Linked DNA regions of Homo sapiens: region 1 is linked to region 2. The links are contacts of gene promoters, found by promoter capture Hi-C in blood cells and fetal thymus (Javierre and others, 2016). All regions are on one chromosome and are shown on one strand. Each heading gives the region's core, a stretch centred on a gene start or on the middle of the fragment in contact. The rest is flanking DNA. Distances are from core to core; before and after follow the strand shown. Region 1 overlaps LOC105369896 (a long non-coding RNA gene). Region 2 holds the start of PLEKHG7 (pleckstrin homology and RhoGEF domain containing G7).

What was found. The method cuts DNA at HindIII sites, captures the fragments that hold promoters and counts their contacts. A CHiCAGO score of 5 or more calls a contact.
Region 1: a fragment that was not itself captured here is called in contact with the fragment with the promoter of PLEKHG7 in region 2 in 1 of 17 cell types (non-activated CD4 T cells); the score reaches 5.3 in non-activated CD4 T cells.

Annotation. Positions count from the first base shown.
Region 1 is chr12:91,548,370-91,555,097 of GRCh38, forward strand. All of the region lies in intron 1 of LOC105369896 (a long non-coding RNA gene), which reads right to left. Among named protein-coding and RNA genes, the nearest start is that of LINC02823, 220 kb to the left of the region's middle. The HindIII fragment of the contact is 3,830 bases long and covers 948-4,777 here.
Region 2 is chr12:92,701,530-92,708,201 of GRCh38, forward strand. It overlaps PLEKHG7 (pleckstrin homology and RhoGEF domain containing G7), which reads left to right and starts at 1,460. Exons shown (of 17, transcript NM_001377329.1): 1 at 1,460-1,603; 2 at 4,942-5,609; 3 at 6,121-6,143. The coding sequence starts at 5,103. RefSeq lists an enhancer at 1,601-1,660. The HindIII fragment of the contact is 11,169 bases long and covers 1-1,803 here.

The sequences.
Region 1 (6,728 bases), core at 1,613-4,112, 1.2 Mb before region 2:
TACCACTGACCCCACAGAACTGCAAAGAACCATCAGAGAACATTATGAATACCTCTATGCACATAAACTAGAAAATCTAGAGAAAATGAATTCACTACTGGACACATACGCTCTCCCAAGACTGAACCAGAAAAAAAAAATTGAATCCCTGAGGAGAACAATAATCAGCTCTGAAATTGAGGCAGTAATTAATAGCCTACCAACCAAAAAAAGCCCAGGACCAGATGGATTCACAGCTGAATTCTATCAGATGTACAAAGAAGAGCTGGTACCACTCCTACTAAAACTATTCCAAAAAACTGAGAAGTAGGGACTCCTCCCTAATTTATTCTATGAGGCCAGCATCATCCAGGTACCAAAATCTTGCAGAGCTACAACAAAAAAAGAAAACTTCAGGCCAATATCCTTGATGAACATTGATGCAAAAATCCTCTACAAAATACTGGCAAACTGAATGGAGCAGCACATCAAAAAGCTTATCCACAATGACAAAGTAGGCTTTATCCCTGGGAGGCAAGATTGGATCAACATATGCAAATCAATAAATGTGATTCATCACATAAACAAAAAAGATGAAAGCCACACAATTATCTCAATAGATGCAGAAAAGGCTTTCAATAAAATTCAACATCCATTCACATTAAAAACTCAACAAACTAGGTATTTAAGGAACATATCTCAAAATAATGAGAGCCATATATGACAAACCCAGAGCCAATATCATACTGAATGGGCAAAAGCTAGAAGCATTCCCCTTGAAAACCAGCACAAGACAAGGTTGCCCTCTCTCACCACTCCTATTCAAAATAGTATTGGAAGTCTGGCTAGGGCAACCAGGCAAGAGAAAGAAACAAAGGGCATCCAAATAGGAAGAGAGGGAGTCAAACTCATCCTGTTTGCATACTACATGACCCTATATTTAGAAAATCCCATAGTGTCAGCCCAAAAGCTTCTTAAGCTGATGAACAATTTCATCAAAGTCTCAGGATACAAAATCAATGTCAAAAAATCACTAGCATTGCTATACACCAATAACAGTCAATCTGAGAGCCAAATCATGAATGAGCTTCCATTCATAATTTGCCACAAAAAGACCAAAATACCTAGGAATCCAGCTAACTAGGGAGATGAAAGATCTCTACAAGGAGAACTACAAAATACTGCTCAAAGAAATCAGAGATGACACAAACAAATGAGAAAGCATTCCATGCTCATGGATAGGAGAATCGATATCATTAAAATGGCCATACTGCCCAAAGGAATTTATAGATTCAAAGCTATTCATATTATACTACCATTGACATTACTCAAAGAACTAGAAATAACTATTTTAAAATTCACATGAAATCAACAAAAGAGCCTGAACAGCTAGTACAATCATAAGCAAAAAGAACAAAGCTGGGGGCATCATGCTACCTAACTTCAAATTATATTACAAGGCTACAGTAACAAAAACAGCATGATACAGGTACCAAAACAGATACATAGACCAATGGAATAAAATAGAGAACCCAGAAATAAAACTGCACACCTACACCTAACTGATCTTTGACAAACCTGACAAAAACAAGCTATGGGCAAAGAATTCCCTACTCAATAAATGGTACTGGGATAACTGGCTAGCCATATGCAGGAGACTAAAACTGGACCCCTTCCTTACATCACATACAAAAATTAACTCAAGCAGAGTAAAGATTCAAATGTAAAACCCAAACCTATAAAAACCCTGGAGAACAATCTAGACAGTACTATTCAGAACACAGCCACAGGGCAAATATTTCGCTATTAAGACACCAAATACAATTGCAAGAAAAGCAAAAATTGGCAAATTTTTACAAATCTAAAATCTAACATATCTAAATCTAATTAAACTAAAGAGCTTCCACACAGTGAAACAAACTATCAACAGAGTAAACAGACGGCCTACAGAATAGGAGAAAATACTTGCAAACTAGGCATCCTACAAAGGTCTACTATCTAGCATTTATAAGAAACCTAAACAAATTTATAAGAAAAAACAACCCCATAAAAATGTGGGCAAAGGACATGATCAGACACTTCCCAAAAGAAGACGGCCAACAATCATATGAAAAAAAGCTCATCATTGATCATTAGAAAAATGAAAATCAAAACCATAGTGAGATACCATCTCACACCAGTCAGAATGGCTATTATTAAAAAGTAAGAAAATAACAGATGCTGGTGAGGTTGTGGAGAAAAAGAAATGCTTATATACTGTTGTTGGGAGTGTAAATTAATTTAACCTTTGTGGAAGACAGTGTGATGATTCCTCAAAGACCTAAAGACAAAAATACCATTCGAGCCAGCAATCTCATTACTGGGTATATACCCAAAGGTATGTCAATTGTTCTATTATAAAGTCAAATGTACATGTATGTTCACTGCAACATTATTCACGATAGTAAAGACATGGAATCAACCTAAATGTCCATCAATGATAGACTGGATAAAGAATATGTGGTGCATATACACCATGGAATACTGTGCCACCATACAAAAGAATGACATCATGTCTTTTGCAGGGACATGGATGGAGCTGGAGGCCATTATCCTTAGCAGCTAACACAGAAACAGAGTACCAAATACCACATGTTCTCACTTATAAGTGGGAGCTAAGTGATAAGAATACACGGACACACAGAGGGGAACAACACACACTAAGGGCTATCAGAGGGTGGAGGTTGGGAGGAGGGAAAGGATTAGGAAAAATAACTGATGGGTACTGCTAGGCTTAAGACCTGGGTGATGAAATAATCTGTACAACAAACCCCCATGACATAAGTTTACCTAGGTAATGACCCTGTACATGTACCCCTGAACTTAAAATAAAATATAAAAAAAAAAGTAAAGTAAATTACATGAGATATTCAGCACTTTATTTTAAAATAGTCTTTGTGCTAGATGATTTTGCCCAACTGTAGGCTAAGATAAGTGTTCTGAGCATGTTTAAAGTAGGCTGGGTGATGTTCAGTAGATTAGGGATATTAAATGCATTTTTGACTTAACGGTATTTTCAACTAGATATTAAAGGAGGATTATTGCATCACTGTTTGAAACTTATGAAGAGATACAAGGTAATAATTTATCAAAAGAACAAATATTTTTAAAGTTATCTTGTGCCTGTACAATTACATACTTTACAATAATAAACAAATAATTTGCAGTCATTTAAGAGAAAAGGTCTACCTATTGTTATTGACATGGGAAGTTTTTCAAGAATGTGTTGAGGAGTAAAAGTAAGATACAGAAAATAATGCATGGCATGATCTTATTTGCTTAAAAAATTGCAACTCCACTTATTTGCAATAGTAGAATATAAAAAACCAGCAATAATCACACTAACCACGTAACTGTAGTCAACTCTGGGTGGAATTTGGAAAGGAGAGAAAAGAAGATGAGAATTTCACTTTTTATCCTACACCATTTACTTCATTTACTATTCTACTGTTTGACTTCTTACAACTGGAAGTGTTAGCGATGGGAGTTATTTGAGTCACACGGCACCAAAATATGTTAGTGGTGGTGAATCCATACAAGTCTGCAACAACCTCAATTTGTGTCTCCTTAGAAGAAATAATTTGACTGAGGGGCGTAAGGCAGAAGGAGAGACCAAGGGAAGGATTAGAGAAGTGAAACTTTATTAAAAAAACTTTAGAGCAGGAACAAAAGGAAGCAAAGCACACTTGGAAGAGGGCCAAGTGGTCGACTTGAAAGACAAGTGCGCGGTTTGACTTTTTGACTTGGGGTTTTATATGTTGGCGTACTTCTGGGATCTTGTGTTCCCTCTTCCTGGCTTCTTTCTTGGGCTGGGCTGCATGAACAGTAGCGGGCTAGGCCTTGTGAGGGGAGCATGCGCAGTGTTTACTGGCATTGTACGCATGCTCCCCTGAGGTGTTCTTCCCTTACCAGCTGAGTGTCCCTGGGAGGTCATTTAGCAGTTAAACTCCACCATTTTGCCTCTTAGTGCGCATGTGTGAGACCACTTGCTCAACTCCTAAGATCTTATTGGGAAGTTGCCGATCACCAGTTTCAGGTTTTTTTTTTATCTATAGGGAGACTGACTATCCCTGGTGCTGGCTGTGAACAGTTATTATTTCAGAAAGACAGTGTAACAATTGCCTGACCATCACCTGATGGTCGTCTGACATTTCTGGTGGTGGCAGACACTCTTCTGTCCCTGCTCATGCCTGACTAGCTACCTACTGTAATAGAAGGTATGATTTTTGTAATTTAAAAAATATGTACTGTAAGTATTATATATATATATACACACACACATATATATAGAGAGAGAGAGATTCTATATGTAGTTTCTAATTGTAAAAGGTAAAGTTCATAGATTTAGTAGGGCCATGTAGTTGACTTCATCTGGCTTTGCAATTAAGTACTGATGTTTCAACATTGGCAATGTTGCCAAGATGTTTTATTCTCCACCCTCAGCCACAACTTGTTTATATAAAAAACTAATAATTAGATTAATCAATCATGTGATTTTTTTAAATGAAATGATAGTTGTACTAATGGATATTCCTGAAAACTCTTGTTAGAAGTCAAATAAGTAATATTGTTAGAGGAGGTAGCTAAGCAGACATGAGCAGGGCAAGAGGGGTTCCTCTCCTCCAGGATTATCAGGCTACCATCAAGTGATAGTCAGGTGGTTGTTAAACTGTCTCTCTAAAATAATAACTGGTGGTAGCAAGTGTCAGGGAAAGGCAGTCTCCCAATAAATAGAAAACACCTCAGGCTGGTGATCAGAAGCTTTCTGAAAAGATCTCAGGAGTTGGGCGAGTGGGCTCAAATATTGCATTAAGTGGCAAAATGGCAAAGTTTAACTGGCATATGACCTTCCTCTAGGAACACTGGACTGGTAAGGGAAAAATGCCTCAAATAAACATGCACACAACTTCAGTAAACACACTGTGCATGTGGCCCCTCCTAAGTGCTGGCAGACCACTGCACATGCAGGCAGCTCACCCCAAGAGAAAAATCAAGGAAGGAGAAATGGAAACCCTGGAACCATGTCAATAGATAAAACCCAAGTCAAAGTGGGACGGAACACTTGGATCTCTCAAGTCACCCACTTGGCCCTCTTCCAAGTTTACTTTACTTCCTTTCGTTCCTGCTCTAAAACTTAATAAGCTTTTACTCCTGCTGTAAAATTTGCCTTGGTCTCTCACTCTTCCTTATGCCCCTCAGCCGAATTCTTTCCTCCGAATAGGCAAGAATGGAATTTACTGAAGACTGGTATGGATTCGCCACTGGTAACAATATGCATAATTTGTGTGTTTTCAGGTTGCTATAGTCATTTCAAAATGAAAAATTTTAAGTACAAACTTAATACCTTTTGAACACATATCAAACTTACAATGTCTTCAGTAGGCTTAAAAATAAAATATGAAATTGCTCTTCACTAAAAGCAAGCAACTATTTAGTAAAATAAACCCCATGGGTTCAGGTTTTAGTTTTATCTTATGTAATGTTTGCATTGAGTTTTTAGTAACAGTTATTTCATGATATATTCACTGACATTAACCAGAAGAAAGCACAGTACCAGTCACATTATAAACTCTAATATTGCTTGATTTATCCACTTTTATTGGCCATCCATAGGGAACTGCCTTTAATATCCTTGGTATTAATGGAAAGTATACTTCATTAGAGAAGGAAAAATCATTATAAACAAAATAATAGAAGTAAAATGTTTGTCTAGAGTAAGATATAGGATCATGAAAATAATAACTTAGAGGATCTATTCTGCCTTCACCTAACCATAGCTCTCATACCCATGACTTAGAATTTAATAAGAATTAGGCTGAGTGTGGTGGCTTACTCAATCCCAGCACTTTGGGAAGCCAAGGTGGGAGGATTGCTTGAGCCTAGGAGTTGAAGACCAGCCTGAACAACATAGTGAGACCCTGTTTTCTCTTCAAGAGAAAACTGGACCATGCTGGATGTGGTGGCACCTGTAGTCCCAGCTACTTGGGAGACTGAAGCAGGAAAATGACTTGAGTCCTGTAGCTTGAGGTTACAGTGAGCTGTGATCATGCCACTGCATTCCAGCTAGGTGACAGAGTGAGACTCTGTTCCCAATAAATAAATACACAATTTTTTTAATTAAATAAGTAGTATGCCAGGACTTTATAGCAGTGTATCATGTCCCTTTTCTGTTTAAAATTTTTAAATTTTCCTTGACTTCCTACTGTCATCAATAAAGGTAAAACTTCTTGGCATATCAACCAGGGCAGATTCATGAACCTGCCAAACTCTTTAGCCTCACTTTACATCCAATCCACACCATGATAGCTGCCTTCTACCCTTGTGCATATTGCTGCCGTAGTTCCCTAGGTAAACTGAATGCCAAATGTAGGCATCTGGGAATAAAAGGAAACACACATCTATCTCATCTCACTTCCCCAAATGATAAAGATTAGTTTAGATGAATATATCTAGAATGTTGCCAATAGAAAATCTAGGAAAATAAAAGTATTTTAATTTCAGCATCTACAATATCTTGTGTCATTTCAAAAAATAGTGTTTCATTTTGAGTTTCCACCTAAAGGTCTTTCTCTAGCCCTACCTCACTGATTTCACACATGCTTTTCCTTCTTGAGATGTCCTTCACTCATCTCATCTCACTTCATTTCACCCAGGCTATCCTTCATCTTATCCTCCACCTGATTGACTTTAATTCATTTACCAGAAATAGC
Region 2 (6,672 bases), core at 210-2,709:
CCACAAACTAAAAGCTAAAAGACTTTATTCATTTTTTTCCTTCCCAAATTGAAGCAATTCACTTCTAGACATCCTTGGCAGGAGCTCAGAACTGTTTATGCAGGCTCCATGCAGGCAAAATATTTTTTGATATCCTGCTTTTGGTTGAGTCATGGTAATGTTGGCAATGGTGGTGAGGGCAGGAGATCAAGTCATTTTTCAAAGTTCTAAGTAAATGATGTTCTAGTAAGATCAATATGAGAGAATTAAAGACTAATATAAAGTTTATCACAAGGCCAACATCTATAAGTTAGACCTTTTTTTCTTTTCCTCTAAGGGCAGTGGTTCTCAAATTTTAACCCATGTAAGAATCACCTGGAAGTCTTGTTAAACACAGACTTCTGGCTGGGCACAGTGGCTCACACCTGTAATCCCAGCACTTTGGGAGGCCGAAGTGGGTGGACCACCTGAGGTCAGGAGTTCGGACAGCCTGGCCAATATGGTGAAACCCCGTCTGTACTAAAAATACAAAAGTTAGCCGGGCCCTGGTGGTGTGCACCTGTAATCTCAGCTACACAGGAAGCTGAGGTAGGAGAATCGCTTGAACCCAGGAGGTGGAGGTTGCAGTGAGCTGAGATCGTGCCACTGCACTCCAGCCTGAGTGACAGAGTGAGACCCTGTCTCAAAAAAAAACCACGGACTTCTGACCCCATCCCAGAGTTCCAGGGGTTGGAGAGCATGGAGGGGGAAGATTTTTCCTTTCTAACAAGTTCTCAAGTCATAGTGATACTGCTGGTCCAGGGACCCTACTTTAAGAACTACCGACCTCAGGGAACCTTCACAGTAAGTATCTGTAATGAGTCCAATCAATGAAAACTTCAGTGAATTAGACTTCATTAGAATTACTTCAACTTTGTTTTGGGAAAGTCTATAGACATTTTTGTTTAATGCTGCATACATATGCATTATCTCCACCTAGGCATCAAATAAATATTCTTTGGGGTACTGATCTAATGAGAATACTGGTAGATATAAATGCTCTTCCATTTGCATTTTAATTATTTGAAAACTAATGTTCACAAATTCACTCCCTGGTGCTCTAATCATTTCCTCTACTATTCAATGCTTATCAAAGCAAGTCATTAATAAAATAGATCAACACAAAATGTTTTATGATGTGAAGAAAGTAGAGTCCCAAAGAATGCATCTCACAACCTTAGAGAAAATAAATGAAATAGAAACCTAGAACTGCTTCACTGAACTATGAGTGATGATTTGTTGAATGCCTCAAGAGGAAGTAAAAAGTTACATTTGCATCATTTCTGTATTTGATCAGCCGTTGTTTACCTGACTTGTTCTTAGGCTGCCTTAGATTCTGAGCTGGCTTCCCTTTAGGCTTTTTCATAAACAAATAACTGGAAATGTCTCTAAGGAGGGGAGAGACCAGTTCCTCATTGCAGCTGGTAGCAAGGTTGCTTTCACTCAGCCAGGAGGACGCATTGTTACAGGTGTGGAACTTGTTGCTCCGAGCCCTCGCCTGGCAGCTCACTCTGGATCTGCGGGTTCTGAGGAGCCTCGGGACCCACCTGGGTGCAGTTGCCTTCAGGGACAGACCATCTTACAGGTATTAAAGGCAACATTCAGCTGCTTTCTGGGTTTCTCTCTTGCACTTTCCTTTTGTCCTATTGCTATCAGTTTCGCTTGTTTTGCTGATCTCTCCAGGTCTCATTAGAATTAGTGAATCATTAACCTGCAATGGTTTCATTTCTAGTACAGTGAGATGGCTTCCCCAACAGTGTGGGTGGGTGTTTGCTGGATTCTCAAAGCTTGGAAGGTCAAAGGTTGGTGAATTTTCTTTATGGTGACCATGTATTAATTTCCTCTTTTAAACATAAAGAAGAGTTAGCATGAATGGATTGACTTGTTAACTTTTGATTCTACCAGATCCACTGGGTGTAGTCATTTAGGGAAAGCTTCCCAGGAGCCTTAGCCATTATCTCATTTAATTTCTGCAACAGGCCTGTGAGGGAGGTTCTTTGATGTCCTCTTGGTAAATGCTGCATGGCAGTTGGCAGAGGAGAAGTGGCTTGTCCTAGGTCACACAGCCAATTGGCGGTGATACTGGAAGAGAAACCAGACCCATTTCTTCTGGTGCTTGAGCTCTTCCTGCCTTTCTGCAAACCACCTCCCTAAGCCCTGCTGTTTTTAAAGTTTCTCCATTTCCGCAGTGCATCATGTCGGCAGTTACTATTGCCTTGGTTCCAATATTTAAGACAGTGGCTAATAAATAATTCTTACCGATGTGAATCCTATTGGCCATAAATAACTTCCTACCAGCAGCTACACCCCTGTGTCTGAACGACTACAAAGGAAACCCAAAGCCGTATCCTAACCCCTCAAAAGAGGAGAGGAAAAGGCCAGAAGGACAGAGGGGAAACCCAAAGACTAAGAAATCTGATCTAACTATTATGCAAGTGCCTATGCAAATATACTGAATTCCTTTAACATTGTTGCTGCCTAGAACTTGGACAGTCTTCTAAAGGAGAAAAATAATAGAACGGCCCTGATTGTATGTATGTGTGAAAGTACCTATTGATTCAAAATTAGCTGGGTGGGGTGGTAAGCATCCATAGCCCCAACTACTCAGGAGCACTGCAGCATGAGGATTCTGTGAGGCTAGGAGTTTGAGGTTACAGTGCGATATGATCACACCTCTGCACTCAGCCTGGGCGACAGAGCCAGACTCCATCTCTAAAAAGAAAAAAAAAAAGAAAGAAAGTACCTATAGATTTGATGCTCAGCTCAGCATTTGTTTGTTGGGAGAATGAGGAACTGGCCTCTCCATGTAGCAACAATGTACCTTATTTTATCAATGGTAGGGAGGGACCATTTCATACCTCTCCAGCAATGTTGGTATCAACCTTCAGAGCAGCCTCCAGGAATTACCAATCTAAAACCAAAACTAGTACAATCTCACCTTAACTGAACATAAGTTTCCTAAACTGGCATTGCCCTCTTTCCTCCACTCTGCAAAAAAGGGTACCTCATGGGTTTTAGTTCTACATGTGAAGTTCTATAACAATTGAGTCCTCAGCTCAAAATAAAGCAAACACAACATTAAGAATTTTAGATTTCTTTTGTGAATAAGAGTTGAATTGACGTTAGTTTGCATCTAAGTTGTTCCTCAAACAACTCACCAGTCTGAAATCCAGTACCTGTTAGTTTCATTTGGCATTTTAAAAAGGTTTTTATAGAGATGGGGTCTCACTATGTTGCCCAGGCTGGTCTTGAACTTCTAGGCTCAAGGGATCCTCCCGCCTTTGCCTCCCAAAGTGCTCGGATTACAGGCATGAGCCTCTGTGCCTGGACTTACTTGACCTTAAACAAGGTAAGAGTCAGGGAGTAAAATAAGAGACCACAAAGTCCCCAAAATCAATGTCAAGTCACAACATTGTCATGACAATGTCATAACATTGAGCTCCTCCTCTACTGATAGGAATAGATCTAACAACCTATTAATTATCTATTCACAAGGTTGTTGGACTTCTATGACTGACACAGATTAAAAGAAACAAAGAGGAGAGAGTGGTTGCCATAGGCAAGTACAAAAAGCATAGTGAGAAGTAAGGAATAAAAATTAGGGAGTACATTGGTGTGGGGCCATTTGGTGTGGGAGTGAATATTCAGATGCTATAGAAGCCTGTAACAATTATTGTATTCTCCACAGAACTATAGTAAACATAGTAGTAATCACTGTATTTTGGCAAAGTACTAGAATGATAGTCAACAGAATGAGGTCAGGTTATAAGGAAAAGGTTTATTGGTTTTCAGCCTTCTCTATATCAAGTTAAAGAAGCAAATAATACACCCTAGAAAAGTTCTACTAAAAAGTATTGCCCATGCAATTAAAATTATAAGAAGTAAATTATTAGCCATTCTTAAATTTTGGCTATCCAAATGTGGGCAAAGGGTTTCAGATTGCTGAGTTCTGCTTTAGAATGATAAACTTACTAAAACTATTATTGATGATCTTGGAATATACGGTCAACTACTAATGTTCCATCCACAAACAATCCACGCACAGTCTGAAGCCACCTCCCATGCCATCTGCGGCCAGGGAAGATGGGTCTCTCGCCTGTCCCACAGTCCCACACCTGGTCTGCAAATCATCAAGCATCAACTCTCATGCCATAAGGGATGTGTAAGGATTGATGTTTTCCCACACATACCTTCTTCATGTGGGAAAGTACAGAATAACGAAACTGCAATAAGCCACTCCCATGAATCAAGCTGTGAAATGGAAGGGTCAGCTTTTCTTGAGCATGAGAAGAGATAATTCTGCATGCATAGATTGCAAAAAACACCTCCAATCATGAACAGTAGGGTACCTGGTGATGTCTGGGTTTTTCTTTTCAAACCTGCAAGTCCTTTTTCCAAAATGTAAAGATTGATAGAATCTAAGATAAAAGACGTTGTCAGATACTTTACATCAGTTACCTTCAAAGCCTGTCTCATTCTGTAATTTAAACCTTGAGGGAAGGAGGCTTGTTTTCCTTGTTCTTGCATCCCCAGAATGCACCACAATATGTACATACATACATAAATGTAGATGATAAGGAGGATTTAATGTATATTTGATTCTCTTAAAATGGAATAATCACAAGGGGAGGAGCTATGTGGTTTCCAGGAAGTACCTTAAGTTACCAAAGTTTTTAAAGGCTTTTTTGTTTGAACCTAGAAGGAATATTAAGTAGACAGTAAACAGACTTCAATACGCTATTTAGATGAGAAGGCTGGAGTCACGTATATTAATTATCTTCTGAACGTAAAGGATGCTGATGTGAACTGAGCTCTATTGCCTATGAAGAATTAGAAGTTTTCCTTTGAAATTTTAGACCTTTTTTCTCACTGCAGTCTCCCTCATTTGCTACATATTTCACAGTCTGCTCTTCCTCACTACAGATGCAATAACCTGCTTGACATTCTCCTCTGGAAAAGGAAAAGAACTACGAGAGGAAGCATGGCACTTGGATGCAGAAATTGAGCACCCTCCATGTGATCCAGAGAACAGCAACTCATACGTCTTCTGGAACCTTCTACCAACAGTAGAACCTCTTAGCTTTATGGAGAAAACAGAGTCATTCTGTCCAGAGGTGCCACCCCAAGACTGTGGAGCCTCTCCTCGGCCCTCGCTGAGGAGCCTGCCAAAGAACCAGGGGAGTCTCCTCCAGTTTGACCGGCAAGCCCCAGGCCGCATCTCCACCTCGCCCACTTTGAGGAGATTAAGGACCCGTGGCTGTGGGACAAGGCAGGATGCCTGGCAGGTGACCACCTGGGGAAGCTGGGGAGCTCCTGTGGGCTTCCCATGTTACCTTTCGAAGAGCCTGCCAGGAAGCCCAAAGGATTCTTCACACTTGCTGTCACCCTTGAGACTCCACTCAAGATTGACCTCTGAACCTGAAAGGGCCCTGAATGCAGCTGACTCACTGGAGCCCCAAACCCGGCCCACTGACAAGTATCTCCCTCCTGAGCTTCAGCCTGTCAATGAAGGGTCCCTTCACCAGGCCTCTCTTCGGCAGCAAGAAGGCCACTTCCTGCCCAGCCCCACCCTACGACACCCTAGTCCTCAGGTAACACAGCTCTAAGCCTCCGGCCTCTCAGTTGCTGAACCACAAAGCAAAATAGATCTCAGAGTTGCTTAGTTCCCCCAAGGGCCAGTAGATCCTAAAAAGGAGACAGCACAGGAAGTCACACTGAGGGGACACATTCTCTTTAGGAAGCATTGGCTCTTAAGTGAAAGGAGGGCAGCAATCTGGGGAGGAAAGAAAATGATCTCGCTCACTTTCTTCTGTCCTTAGAGGCACTTTGAGAAAGGATGCACCAAGGCCAGGCTTACCGATGGTCTGTCAGGTACCCGAGAGCAATGGGGGCCCTCTTGCAAATGCACACTATTTAAAGACAACGTCGTGTCACTGATTTAAAAGGGGAGAAAGAGCCAGTTATTCAAATTTCCAATCCCACCAAAATGTAAAACATGTTTTAACTAGGAGGGCTCATTGTTTCTCCTTTCAACATGTTTGCTTTGGAGTTTGGGATGGGTTTGAGCAAGACTAAAACATATGTTCTTAAAATTTATTTCAGGGAGAAGAATTGCACCCATCCAGGTGTGTATGCATTTATTTTCTCCGGTGCTATGACATCTGTTGACTATTTACTATTAGATTTTTATTTCTGTCCTGACATAACAAAGCTGACGGTGTGTTAACCAGTGCACTTTGTTTTATAGCACTCAAGTCACTCTTCGCATTTATAGGTGCACGAGTTTTCATTTCAAGAGTCTCCCTTTAAGAGCACAGCATTTGGGGGCAGGATACAATGCCATATGCAGTCATAGTTTTCATTTTGAATTGTCAATGTCTTGGCCCTGTGGCTTAATTAACATCCACTTAGTAATAGGTTTTGTCTGGTAGAGAAAATAGAAAGGCCAGAGATATGCAACAGCTTTTCAAAGAAAAATTTGGAGGATAAAAGAAAGGAACAAGATGTCCTGGTTAAATCTAGGGTGACCTTTAAAATAACCTGTTATGACAGACTGTGCCCTTATCCAGAATGAAGTAGACTGTGTCATTTCCAAAACCAGCTCTGAACTTTCAGCACGGCCCCCTGGTTGTAGCAATGGATCTGCCATCTCTG